3 separate regions of the Homo sapiens genome follow, and all the other regions are linked to region 1. The links are contacts of gene promoters, found by promoter capture Hi-C in blood cells and fetal thymus (Javierre and others, 2016). All regions are on one chromosome and are shown on one strand. Each heading gives the region's core, a stretch centred on a gene start or on the middle of the fragment in contact. The rest is flanking DNA. Distances are from core to core; before and after follow the strand shown.

What was found. Contacts are between HindIII fragments. The CHiCAGO score rates a contact against its expected background, and 5 or more counts as called.
Region 2: a fragment that was not itself captured here is called in contact with the fragment with the promoter of CLIP2 in region 1 in 4 of 17 cell types (total B cells, naive B cells, fetal thymus and 1 more); the score reaches 5.9 in total B cells.
Region 3: a contact is called between a fragment that was not itself captured here and the fragment with the promoter of CLIP2 in region 1, in 3 of 17 cell types (M0 macrophages, M1 macrophages and megakaryocytes). The highest score is 6.9, in M0 macrophages.

What each region holds. Positions count from the first base shown.
Region 1 is chr7:74,287,440-74,291,241 of GRCh38, forward strand. It overlaps CLIP2 (CAP-Gly domain containing linker protein 2), which reads left to right and starts at 1,968. Exons shown (of 17, transcript NM_003388.5): 1 at 1,968-2,295. LOC107986742 (a long non-coding RNA gene) reads right to left here and starts at 1,868. Exons shown (of 2, transcript XR_001745024.2): 1 at 1,623-1,868. RefSeq lists silencers at 1,887-2,356, 2,377-2,446 and enhancers at 2,322-2,966, 2,967-3,610. The HindIII fragment of the contact is 3,709 bases long and covers 1-3,522 here.
Region 2 is chr7:74,176,305-74,180,106 of GRCh38, forward strand. All of the region lies in intron 1 of EIF4H (eukaryotic translation initiation factor 4H), which reads left to right. Among named protein-coding and RNA genes, the nearest start is that of EIF4H, 3.8 kb to the left of the region's middle. RefSeq lists enhancers at 3,144-3,644, 3,645-3,802. The HindIII fragment of the contact is 608 bases long and covers 1,348-1,955 here.
Region 3 is chr7:74,371,751-74,375,552 of GRCh38, forward strand. It overlaps CLIP2 (CAP-Gly domain containing linker protein 2), which reads left to right. Exons shown (of 17, transcript NM_003388.5): 9 at 1,182-1,286. Among named protein-coding and RNA genes, the nearest start is that of GTF2IRD1, 80 kb to the right of the region's middle. RefSeq lists an enhancer at 403-1,401. The HindIII fragment of the contact is 2,873 bases long and covers 173-3,045 here.

The sequences.
Region 1 (3,802 bases), core at 718-3,217:
CTGGTTTATAACTGTTGATATACAGGTTATGCATCCCAGCCACAAGGAACAATTAGCTCCCTGTTTCCTGAACACTGCCCTCTCCACCCTGAGTCCCCTCCCTCCCTATGGGTTCACACCTCCTACAGAAGCCCAGTCTTTCTGGAGTTCACTCTGAACCTCCTCCCTTATTAGTCTCCAAGTCTGGCTCTCCACACCAACTGGGCACCCCCTCAGGGCTGACCCCATGCCCAGCCTCCATCATTACAGCATTGCATGTTCGCTGAACTGAATTGAAACACTCTCCCCAATTTACAGATGGGGAAACTGAGGTCAAAATGTTTAGGCCAGGCACGGTGGCTCACAGCTGTAATCCCAGCACTTTGGGAGGCTGAGGTGGGAAGATCATCTGAAGCCAAGAGTTTAAGACCAGCCTGGACCCCAACATAATGAGACCCCATCTCTATAAAAAACACAAAAAATTAGCCGGGCATGGTGCATGCCCGTAGTCCCAGCTACTCTGGAGGCTGAGGCAGGAGGATCATTTGAGCCTGGGAGTTTGAGGCTGCAGTGAGCTGTAATCACACCACTGCACTCCAGCCTGGGTGACAGAGTGAGACCCCTTCTCTAAAAAAAGGTTCACTCACTTCTCAAAGATTATGGATACCAAGACAGTTGAGGGGTGGTAATGTTAACTTAGTAAGTTCATTCATTCATTCAACAAATATTACTGGATGTCTACCCTCTGCCAAGCATTGCACTGGGTCCCTTAGGGGATAGGAACAAGATCGTATGTGGCACTTCTCTCCCGCAGAACAGTGGTCTCACCATACAGACCACAACCTCCCCCAACACCCACATTCCTGCACTCAAGGGAAAAGCAGGGACATTTAAGCTGTGCTTTGAAGGGGGAATATGATTTGTCAAACAGAGAAAGGGGGCAGGGCAGGACTGGTAGAACGGCCAGCTAGGTCAAAGGCATCCAGGCGAGCTTATCAAGGGGGGACAGAGGGAAACCAAGCCACAGAAGCCAACCGCAGCCTGGGCATGGACAGGGGCTGGGGCTTGGTCACTGTTTAGTTCCTGAGCTGTCACTTGGCATCTGCCTCTCCACGCAGGAGGGGACCTGGCAGCTGCCTCAACTCCTCTGAAATAGCAGTACATGCATCCTGTCCTGGGGAGGGTTCATTTGTATCTTGGAAGCTGATCACCATGAGATCCTTTTTTTTTTTTCTTTTGGGACGGAGTCTCGCTCTGTCACCCAGGCTGAAGGGCCGTGGCTTGATCATGACTCACTGCAGCCTCGACCTCCTGGGCTCCAGCGATCCTCCCACCCCAGCCTCCCCAGTAGCTGGGACCGCAGGCGCGCGCCCAGCTAATTTTTGTATTTTTTGTAGAGACGAAGGTTACGTTGCCCAGGTTGTTCTCGGACTCTTGGCCTCAGGCGATCTGCACGCCTTGGCTTCCTGAAGTGCTGGGATTACAGGCGTGAGACACTGCCCAGGCTATGAGATCCTTGATAACCATGAGACCCTGTGCCACAGTTCCCCACCCACGCTGGCCCCAACACAGACCTGAAGTTTTCGCCCCAGCTGCACTGTCCCCCTCCTCATCCTTTCTGTCCAGCGCCAACAGCATCTCACCTTCCCAAGCTGCCGTCCTTCCCAATGACCAGAGACATCTTTGCAAGCATAGCATGGCTGGAGGATGCGTTTCACCAAACGCGATGTAAGCACCACCAGGTGCCCAGCGCGGAGGTGGATGTGGGCGAACCCTGGACGCCCCACAAAGGACAGCTGCGGCCTGGGAAGGGAAGGAGATGGAGCGGGGAGAGGGGGAAGAGGTTGCTCCGCGTTTTCCGCCCGCCCGCCTGCTTTCCGCGAGGCACTGAGGCCTGAAAACCGCGAGGCCGCCCACGCGCGCCTGACCCGCCCCCCCCTCCCGCCCGCCCCAGGCCCCGCCCTCCCGCGCCCGCCCCTGCGCCGGCCCCTTTTGTTCCCTCCCGGAGCCGGGCCGCTGGCTCCGCTGGCTCCGCTGGCTCCGCGGGCGCTCAGCTCGGCTCGGCCGCGGGGCGCGCAGGCGGCTGCTGGGCGGCCTCGGTGCGCGCCTCCCGCCTTCCCAGAGACGTGGCGCGAGGCCCGGGCCCTGAGCACCTATCGCGGGGATCCCCGGCGCCAGGAGGGGGTGCAGCCGGTGGGCAGCGCCGCGCAGGGAGGGGCCGCAGCATCCTCGCCCCCCAGCGCGCCCGGGCCCGAGAGGAGGAGGCCGGGGCTCTCCGGGCCTCCCGCCGCTTAGCCTGATGCTGGAAGGACGAAGGTAGGGGCTGCTGGAGGGGCCGAGGGAGGGGGTCGCGCGGGCAACAAAGGACGGAGAGATGCGGGGGGCGGCGGCCTGGCCGAAAGCGGGGCTGCGGGCCCGGAGGCATTGTCGGGGCGTGGGCGGGGGCGGGAGGGTTCGAGGCCGGCCGGTGGGCGTGGGCGGGAGCTGGCTGGGGTGTGCCCCAACTTCCCCGTTGCTTGTAGGAGAGGAGGGGGCACTGCTTGGGGTGCCAGGGTTGGGGGCTATTCCCGGGCTGCGGGTCCCCCTGTTGAAGGCATCACCAGCCTCATCGGGGTCCCTACCCTCGGACGGGGGTTTGGCCCTTCTGTTGGAGGGTCGCCCGTACCCCCTTCCAAGGGCAGAGCAAGACGGCTGGACGCGCCGCAGGGCTCTCTGGGCTCACAGAGCCTGGGGAGCACAGCCTGGTGGGCGCGGCCATGCAGCCCCCATCTCCAAACCTGGGGTCTGGGAGAACAGGGACTGCCCCCCTCTCCTCCCTGCTACACCCTCTGGGGTCGCCTGGCCGATGGCCTTTGCAAAACTTGGTTGAAGTGCTTGGCTGAGGTGGGGTAGGAGGAGATTGAGGCGGGCGGCTTCTCTCAGGGGGTGTCCCCCCAAGCTGGCGCTGGTGGCTGGTGAGGCAGCAGATTTTCTGCCCTCCTCCCGGGGAGGGGCGGCGGCCGCGGAGGATGCTTGGCTGAACCTTCAGGGCCCGCCCGTTTGGACCTTTCAGGCAGAGCTTGGGCCGAGCGGGTGCCCACTGGGCACTGCCACGCAGGCCCCAGCCCCACCCTGGGAAGGACGGGCAGAGGGAGCACCTTGGGGGGAAATCACCCACCCAGCAGTGTGTCCCCCAACGTCTGAGACCCCTCCTCTCACTTCTGGGTGAGAAGTGGGGGTCTGGGATGAGGGGGTCTGCCGTCACTCTTGCGCGATGCCTGAGGGAGGTGGGTGGGGTGGCCTAGGGCTGTGGGCAGAGGAGGAGGAGGGTGCGGGGAGCACCACGTGTGTGCTTCAGAAGCCTCTTCCCTTTCGGTTGTAAATGTAAACAATAAGCCCTTCATTCAGCTGCTGTTACCTGGCCTGGCACTTCTAGGGGCTGGCTGGTCCACAGGACAGCAGCCTCGGTGTCCCCAAAAAGTGCAGCCCCGGGGGTTGATGAGTGCATTAGTGGGGAAGCTGGGGGCATAGAGGGGGTCCCCTGGAGGATGGGGCAGACCAGGAAGCTTCATAGAGCATCTTGCAGAAGTTTGCTGCCAGGTTGCCTGAAGGGGGTTTCGTGCAGGAGAAATAGCGTGAATAAGGGCTTGGAGTCAGAAAAGGAGGCTATTGGGTTAGAGAAACAGCTTAGGATTTAAGGAACTTAGACCTGCGTTGAGCACAGGATGCATTCTTGTCTGCAGTGCCTTGCGGGGGAATGATGGGATTCTGGCTTCAGGACAGGTGGAGGCGGTGGAGATGGAGAGGGGCTCCAAAGGCAGAAGAGGCAGGTGGAGGCGCCTGG
Region 2 (3,802 bases), core at 402-2,901, 110 kb before region 1:
TCGGCTCACTGCAACCTCCACCTCCCGGGTTTAAGCGATTCTCCTGCCTCAGCCTCCCAAAGTGCTGGGATTACAGGCATTAGCCACCGCGCCCGGCCTCAATTATTTTAATTATGTCCACATGAACAAATGTCACTGCTTTACAATGCTTAAGCATCATAGAAGATTGCCACCTATGGAAAGCAGTTTTAACACTGCATTGTTTGGTACTTGTGTAGGCACCTTCTCCCTTGTCTAAAATGCCTCAGACAGGCTCGTACATCTCACCTCTGAATTACTTGGGTCACAGGTGAAAGAAATGGTAGGCCTAAAATGAACAGTTATCATCATAAAACATAGTTTGGTAGTTATACATCTTCCTAAGTTTATTTCGTAGTTGTGTTTAATAACCAGTGCAGTTGTCAGGAAACAGTATTGAACCACTGCTTTTTTCCCCCGAGCCTGTAAGGGCATGTCCCCAGCAGCCAGGGAGAGAACCAGGGACTGCATTGTTCAGCAAGCAAATCAAAACAAAATTCCAAATGATCAAGAGTTGATTGTACCAGATCTTGAATGGACTTTGTTTTGCAGTTTGCTAAATTATCTTTTTGAGGTTCCAGTTTCTCATCTACCATTGGCAGTAAAGTGCAGAGTAATACTGATTTTATATTTCTAATTGCAACAAAGCTATGAGTGCTTAGTGGAAAACCACCGATCCTGAGAATTAGGGTGGAAATTGGAGGTGGCAAGAATTGAGGTGGCTGAAATGGTGCCATCTAAAAACTGGCAAAACTCCAAATTTATTCTTTATCAGGATTCAGTTAGGGAGTTTAGAATTCTTTTTTAAATAGAGATGGGTTTCACTATGTTGCCCAGGCTGGTCTTGAACTCTTGGACTCAAGTGATCCTCCCGCCTCAGCCTCCCAAAGTGTTGGGATTACAGGCATGAGCTACCACGCCCAGCCTAGGAGTTTAGAATTCTAACCTTTGAATCTTTAAACTTAGCATGTCTGTCTAAATTTCTGAGCATATTTTTATCCAAAATTTTTATGGTGGTAAAATATACATAACATAAAATGTGCCACTTTACCCATTTTTCAGTATACATTTCAGGGATATTGAGTGTATTCGTAATGTATAACCATCACCACTATCCAGCTCCTTAACTCTTACAGCTTGTAAAACTAAAACCCTGTCCCCTTTGAATAGTAATTCCCTATTGCCCTCCTTCCCCCAGGTCCCTGGCAACCACCATTCTACTTCCTGTCTCTGAGCATATTTTAAGATTTGTATGTAATAGGAAGGAAAGCAGTGTATAAAAACTACAGCTAGTTTTCACTGATGCTAGGGCCTGTAAAGCTATTGAAAAGCTTATTTTAAAATGCTGTTTACATGTCAAATGTCAAGTCGTTTAGGTTTGTTATCCTTCTTCACTCCAAGTGTTCCATTGCTTAGTTCCAAACCATTATCCTCTATGAAAAGTGTTACCAGAAATATTTGGATTTGCTAAGAGGTCTCTGCATGACGGTTCATGTAAAAGCCCTGGCTTTGGAATAAGGCAGACCAGAGTTTCATCAGTTCAGCCATGTGTTAGTTGTGTGATCTGAAGTAAGTTTCTTCACCTCTCTGAGCCTCGTTTTCCCCACATATGAGTTAGAAACATGTATTTATTTATGAAATAGGCTCTCCTTCTGTCACCCAGGCTGGAGTGCAGTGGCAGGATCATAGCTCAGTGCAGCCTCGACTTCCCAGGCTCAAGCCATCCTCCCACCTCAGCCTCCCAAGTAGCTGGGATTACAGGGTGCGCCACCATGCCCAGCTAATTTTTGTATTTTTTTGTAGAGACAGAGTGTCTCTATGTTGCCCAGGCTAGTCTCAAACCCCTGGGCTCAAGGGATCTTCCTGCCTCAGCCTCCCAAGGCTCATTGTGTGAGCCACAGTACCCAGCCTTCAATTTATGTTTCTATTAGAAATTAAGCTTTGTGGCTGGGTGCAGTGGTTCATGCCTGTTATCCCAGCACTTTGGAAGGCCGAAGCAGGCGGATCACTTGTGGCCAGAAGTTTGAGACCACCCTGACCAACGTGGCAAAACCCCATGTCTACTAAAAATACAAAACGGGTGTGGCGGCACATACCTGTAATCCTAGCTACTTGGGAGGCTGAGGCAGGAGAATTGCTTGAACCAGGGAGGCGGAGGTTGCATTGAGCTGAGATCATGCCACTGCACTCCTCCAGCCTGGGCGACAGAGAGAGACTGTCTCCAAAAAAAAAAAAAGAAAAATTAAGCTTAGTGTTCTGGAAAGACTTCACAATTTTAAGGAGTCTCCCTGGAAGCTTAGAACGTACAAAGCAGACTCTGAATGTCTTTCCAGGATCACACTCTGGCTTCCAGCTTCCCCTGGAAGGTTCAGGAGAGTATTTGTCGCCTGGTTGCTTTTACATCATGCTGATTAGACCTGCACACCCGGGCATGAAATGAGTGTGATTGCATCATTTTCATAGAACCTAATGGCAGCTGTATGTACGTCTAAGACTTCTTTTGTGTAAGTCGAATGTTCTTCGAAGTTTCCCCACGTCATGATTTATGTGATTTTCCGTCTTGATCAGGACCTTCTGAAGGAGCTCAAGTATGTGGCTGCTCCACGGTTGATGAGTCTCTGGTTAAGCATGGCCTTCCAGTTCAGGGCTAGGGGGGCCGTCACCTCCCTTTGTTCTGCACATTCTTCTCCTGTCTTTCATGTATACTCACATTTTTGGAGCCTTCTGTGTACTCACATTTTTGGAGCCTTCTAAATGTCTGGCTTAATAGAACACAGCTGGATTCTCATACCTGCATCTGTCTCCACTCTTGGAATGTGTTGCTTTGGTTGACTTTTATGGAGCAGCTCAATCCTTGCACAGATAAATAGTTGGAAATGGGAGGAGTAATCAAATAATTCTGGATATTCATATTTGATTCTATACCAAAACTCAATAAGCAGTAGTTTCTATGAAGGTTAGTTGCAATGTGAAACCTAAAACCTTATCAATAAACTCTTCATACTTTTACATTAGAGTTCATCATTTGGCTGGGCGCGGTGGCTCACTCCTGTAACCCCAGGACTTTGGGAGGCCAAGGCGGGCGGATTACCTGAGGTCAGTAGTCTGAGACCAGCCTGGCTAACATGGCAAAGCCCCATCTCTACTAAAAACACAAAAACTAGCTGGGCATGGTGGTGGGCCCCTGTAGTCCCAGCTACTTGGGAGGCTGAAGCCATAGAATCACTTGAACCTGGGAGGTGGAGTTTGCAGTGAGCCCAGATTGCGCCACTGCACTCCCGCCTGGGCGACAGGGTGAGACTCTGTATCAAAAAAAAAAAAAAAAAGTCACTTTATCTTGTACTCCGACTGGATCCTTTACCAGTGCATACATTTGTAAGGTGTTGGTGATTTGGAAAGGACCTGTTCACTGAGCCAGGCAGAGCCATGCAGATGTTCCAGATGTTGGTACATTTTGTTATACAGTATCAAAGTCACATTCACCATAGCTGTTAGAAAAGTCTCTGAGTATTGAAAGACTGTCAGGCTTATGTTGATGGATACAGGTTTTCCGAAACTCTTTTTTGCTTGAAAGCTTAAATTTTACCATTGGCAACAAATACTGTTATTTTGGCCAGGTGCTGTGGCTCATGTCTGTAATCCCAACACTTTGGGAGGCCATGGCAGGAGGATCACTCTAGCCCAGTCTGGACAATATGTCCAGACCTGGTCTTTTCAAAAATAAAATTAGCTGGTGTGGTGGTATATGCCTATAGTCCCACCTACTTGGGAGGCTGAGGCTAGA
Region 3 (3,802 bases), core at 359-2,858, 84 kb after region 1:
GAGAGGGAGGAGAAGGAGAGAGGAGGGGAGAGAGAGAACTTTTTTTGTTGTTCCTTAAGGAAAATTCAAGAAATAAAATAGGCCAAAGGACATAATCATCTCAATGTCTCTTAATGAATTGCAGGAGTATTTCTAATCAGGTGATGTCCGTTTACACCTTCACCAATAGACAAGCTTCCGGGGTTTTATTACAGGTTTCACACCTAGAGGCTGTTTTGCTAAGCCCCGCCCCTTCAGAACTGCCCTGCAGCTGCTTTAACCCCTTCTCTCCTGGAGTATAAAGAGGACCCTCTGGCTTCTCCCTAAGATGAACTTGGGTCTCCAAACTGCTCCCAATGTCCTCACCCTCCCAGCTTCCCTTCCAAGATCTGTTCTGTGAAATGCAAAAGCCAGTCTTGACACCCTGAGAATGCTGGCCTTTGTCAGCAGATGAAGCAGATATTGTCGAGCTGGGACAAAAGTGCCCTTGTGATTTGTGGAGACCAGGCGTCCTCTGTGGGGTCCGGTGGGGTGGGCAGCAATGGGGCCCGGGAGTGGGAGGCACAGCCCGGCCTCCACCAAGGAGGCTGGGGCCAAGAGGATCGTGAGGGGTCGGGTATATTTTGGAAACATCTTGCGTGTTATGGGTTCTTGCACTTTTAGCACAGGCCTTGGGGGGGGGGGGGAGTCGAGCGGGAATCCCGGGGTCCTTTATTTATTCCTCATCCTGTGGGTCTCCTGTGTGGAGGATGCTTTGCCTACAACCAGTGACAGCCTGCAGGGGAACGGGAACAGGATGGGCCCCTCCCCAGGAGCAGATCCTTGATGAGGACCTTCAAGGTCAAGGGCTGCTGGTTGGGGGTTGGGGGGGACAGAAAAGCGAGGTGCCCATTGCTACCCCAAGCAGGGGCCAGCGAGGGAGGATGGCTTGCAGGCCCCCACCCCCCACCGCCCTACACTGACCCAGCCGGGACACAGCAAGGGGTGGGCATGAGGCCCCACACCCCTCGCCTCCCCAGACTTCCTCTCTTTCGCTGAGCAATTCTGGCTCATGAATCTACTCTCCTCGCCTTGTTCACGGAAGATGACGCCTCCTCTCTCTCTCTCTCTCTTTCTCTCTCTCTCCGGCTTCTTCTTCCCTGTGCCCCCCTCCCTGCGTCCCCGCCCCCACCCCCCCACCGTGTCCACCCTGGGTGGACCAGACCCAGACGCAGCTGGAGCACGCGCGCATTGGGGAGCTGGAACAGAGCCTGCTACTGGAGAAGGCGCAGGCCGAGCGGCTGCTCCGAGAATTAGCGGACAACAGGGTAACCGCGCCACCGCACCCGCCTGGCCCGCCAGCCACCTTGCCCTTTGATGCCCCCTCTGGCTTCTCTGTTTCATTATTGACTCTCTTTCTTTAGCTGCTATCATCTTTTTTATTTTTATTTTTTATTTTTGCATCCCCTTGGAGGAGGGAAGTCAAGATTTAGAAATGTGCTTATGTGGCCGGGTGCGGTGGCTCACGCCTGTAATCCCAGCACTTTGGGAGGCTAAGGAGGGTGGATCGCCTGAGGTCAGGAGTTCGAGACCAGCCTGGCCAACATGGTGAAACCCCATCTCTACTAAAAATATAAAAATTAGCTGGGCGTGGTGGCTCATGCCTGTGATCCCAGCTACTTGGGAGGCTGAGGCAGGAGAATCGCTTGAACCTGGGAGGTGGAGGTTGCAGTGAGCTGAGATCGTGCCACTGCACTCCAGCCTGGGTGACAGAGTGAGACTCCGCCTCAAAAACAAAACAAAAAGAAATGTGCTTATGTTCCCTGGCTCAGTGTTGCTTATTGGGGTGGAGTTGGGGGTGGGGGTGGTCTTTGTTTTTTGGGACTTGGCTCCCCAGCTTATTGCCCCAGCAGCTGAGAACGTCCTGTGAGACCCCCCAGTCTCCCCGATGCATTGCCATGACAAAGTGTTGGAGTTCCTGGGAATGTCCTGTCTCTATGTAGGCAGACCTAGAAACCACTGATCCATGTCTCCTGTCTCCCCAGCTGAGGAGGCTGGGGAGAGGAAGGAGGTCAGGAACTGCAGATCTCTTCCCGGTTTCTCTGGCCCAGAGAGCCTGAAACATGGGTGCAGGAGGGGGCTGGGCTGAAGGACCTGGGGCTGAGGAAGGGGTGGGGCTTTTGAGGGAGTGGAGGTGTCCCCAGGGAATGGTGTTATAATGGGTCCTGGAGCCATGGAACAGCTCTGCTTGTGGGTGAGGCTTCCAGACTCCTAGGGCATGGTTCTGAGTCCCTGCTCCAGGCCCCACAGTCCCCTCCAGGCTTACCATGCACGCCTGGGACCCAGCACTCTGTGCAGGCACTCACATGCGAACAGCCAGCCGGCCCCCCAGCAGTCCCTCTGAGAGCAAGCAAAAACAGGCAGCAAGTGATGACTGGAAAAGCACCCCATAAACAGTATGTAGATGTAGAAGGAGCAGTGGTCAGTTTCTGCATGTTGGTCTCCGTGCACAAGTGGCTGTGTGCATGTGTGCAGGTGTCCAGAGACACACAGGGTCCATTTGCACACACTGGCCATTGCTCAGTGACCATGTGCTTGTACGGTACACACTCATGTGCATGAAGACTGAACGCACAAACTGACCCAGTCACGGCGGACCGGCCGGAGCCCTCCAAATGCATCTTGATCTAGGGTTCAACCTGATGAAAACACAAAAACAGGGCTGGGTGTGGTGGCTCACACCTGTAATCCCAGCACTTTGGGAGGCCAAGGTTGGTGAATCATCTGAGGTCATCTGAGGTCAGGAGTTCAAGACCAGACTGGCCAACATGGTGAAACCCTGTCTCTATTAAAAATACAAAAATTAACTGAGCGGGGTGGTGCACGCCTGTAGTCCCAGCTACTTGGGAGGCTGAGACAGGAGAATCATTTGAACCGGGGAGGTGGAGGTTGCAGTGAGCCGAGATGGTGCCACTACACTCCAGCCTGGGCAAGAGAGTGAGACTCCATCTCGAAAAAAACAAAAACCAAAAAACAAAACAATAAGTTTATTGAACTAAAGGATACCTTCAGAAACAAAATGTTTAAAGCTTGTAATAGATTTAAAGCTTGAAAATATATCATTTTCATATCTATGACCATCAACGTGATCAAGGTGGTTTTTTGGAGAATGGAGCCTCTAAGAGTTTTTTGTTGAAAGATGGGTCTGGGAGCACCCTCTTCTGCTTTAAGCATTAAACTGGACCCTTCTTGGCCACTGCCTCCAGCCAGCCCCTTGGGCTGGATATCCTTCCTAAGGCAGGATAATGCAAAATTCACTGTGGCCTCTGTTCTTTAAAAAGAATGTTAACAAAAAAAAAATTTCTTAATAAAAATACAAAGAACTTTAACTCAGTTGGGCATGGTGGCTCATGCCCATAGAGTCCCAGCTGCTTTTGAGGCTGAGGCAGGAAGATTGCTTGAGCCCAGGAATTTGAGGGTACAGTGAGCTATTATTGCACGGCTGCACTCCAGCCTGGGCAACATAGCTAGACCCCCGTCTCTTTTAAAAAAAAAAAAAATGCTGGGCGGTGGCTCATGCCTATAATCCCAACACTTTGGGACGCCAGGGCGGGTGGATCACTTGAGGCTAGGAGTTCGAGACCAGCCTAGGCAAAAGAGTGACACCCCATCTTTACTAAAAAAACACAAAAATTCCCCAGGCGCATGGTGGTGCATGCCTGTAGTCCCAGCTACTCGGGAGGCTGAGGCAGGAGAATCGCTTGAACCTGGGAAGTAGAGGTTGCAGTGAGGTGAGATCACGCCACTGCATTCCAGCCTGCGTGACAGAGCGAGACTCAAAAAA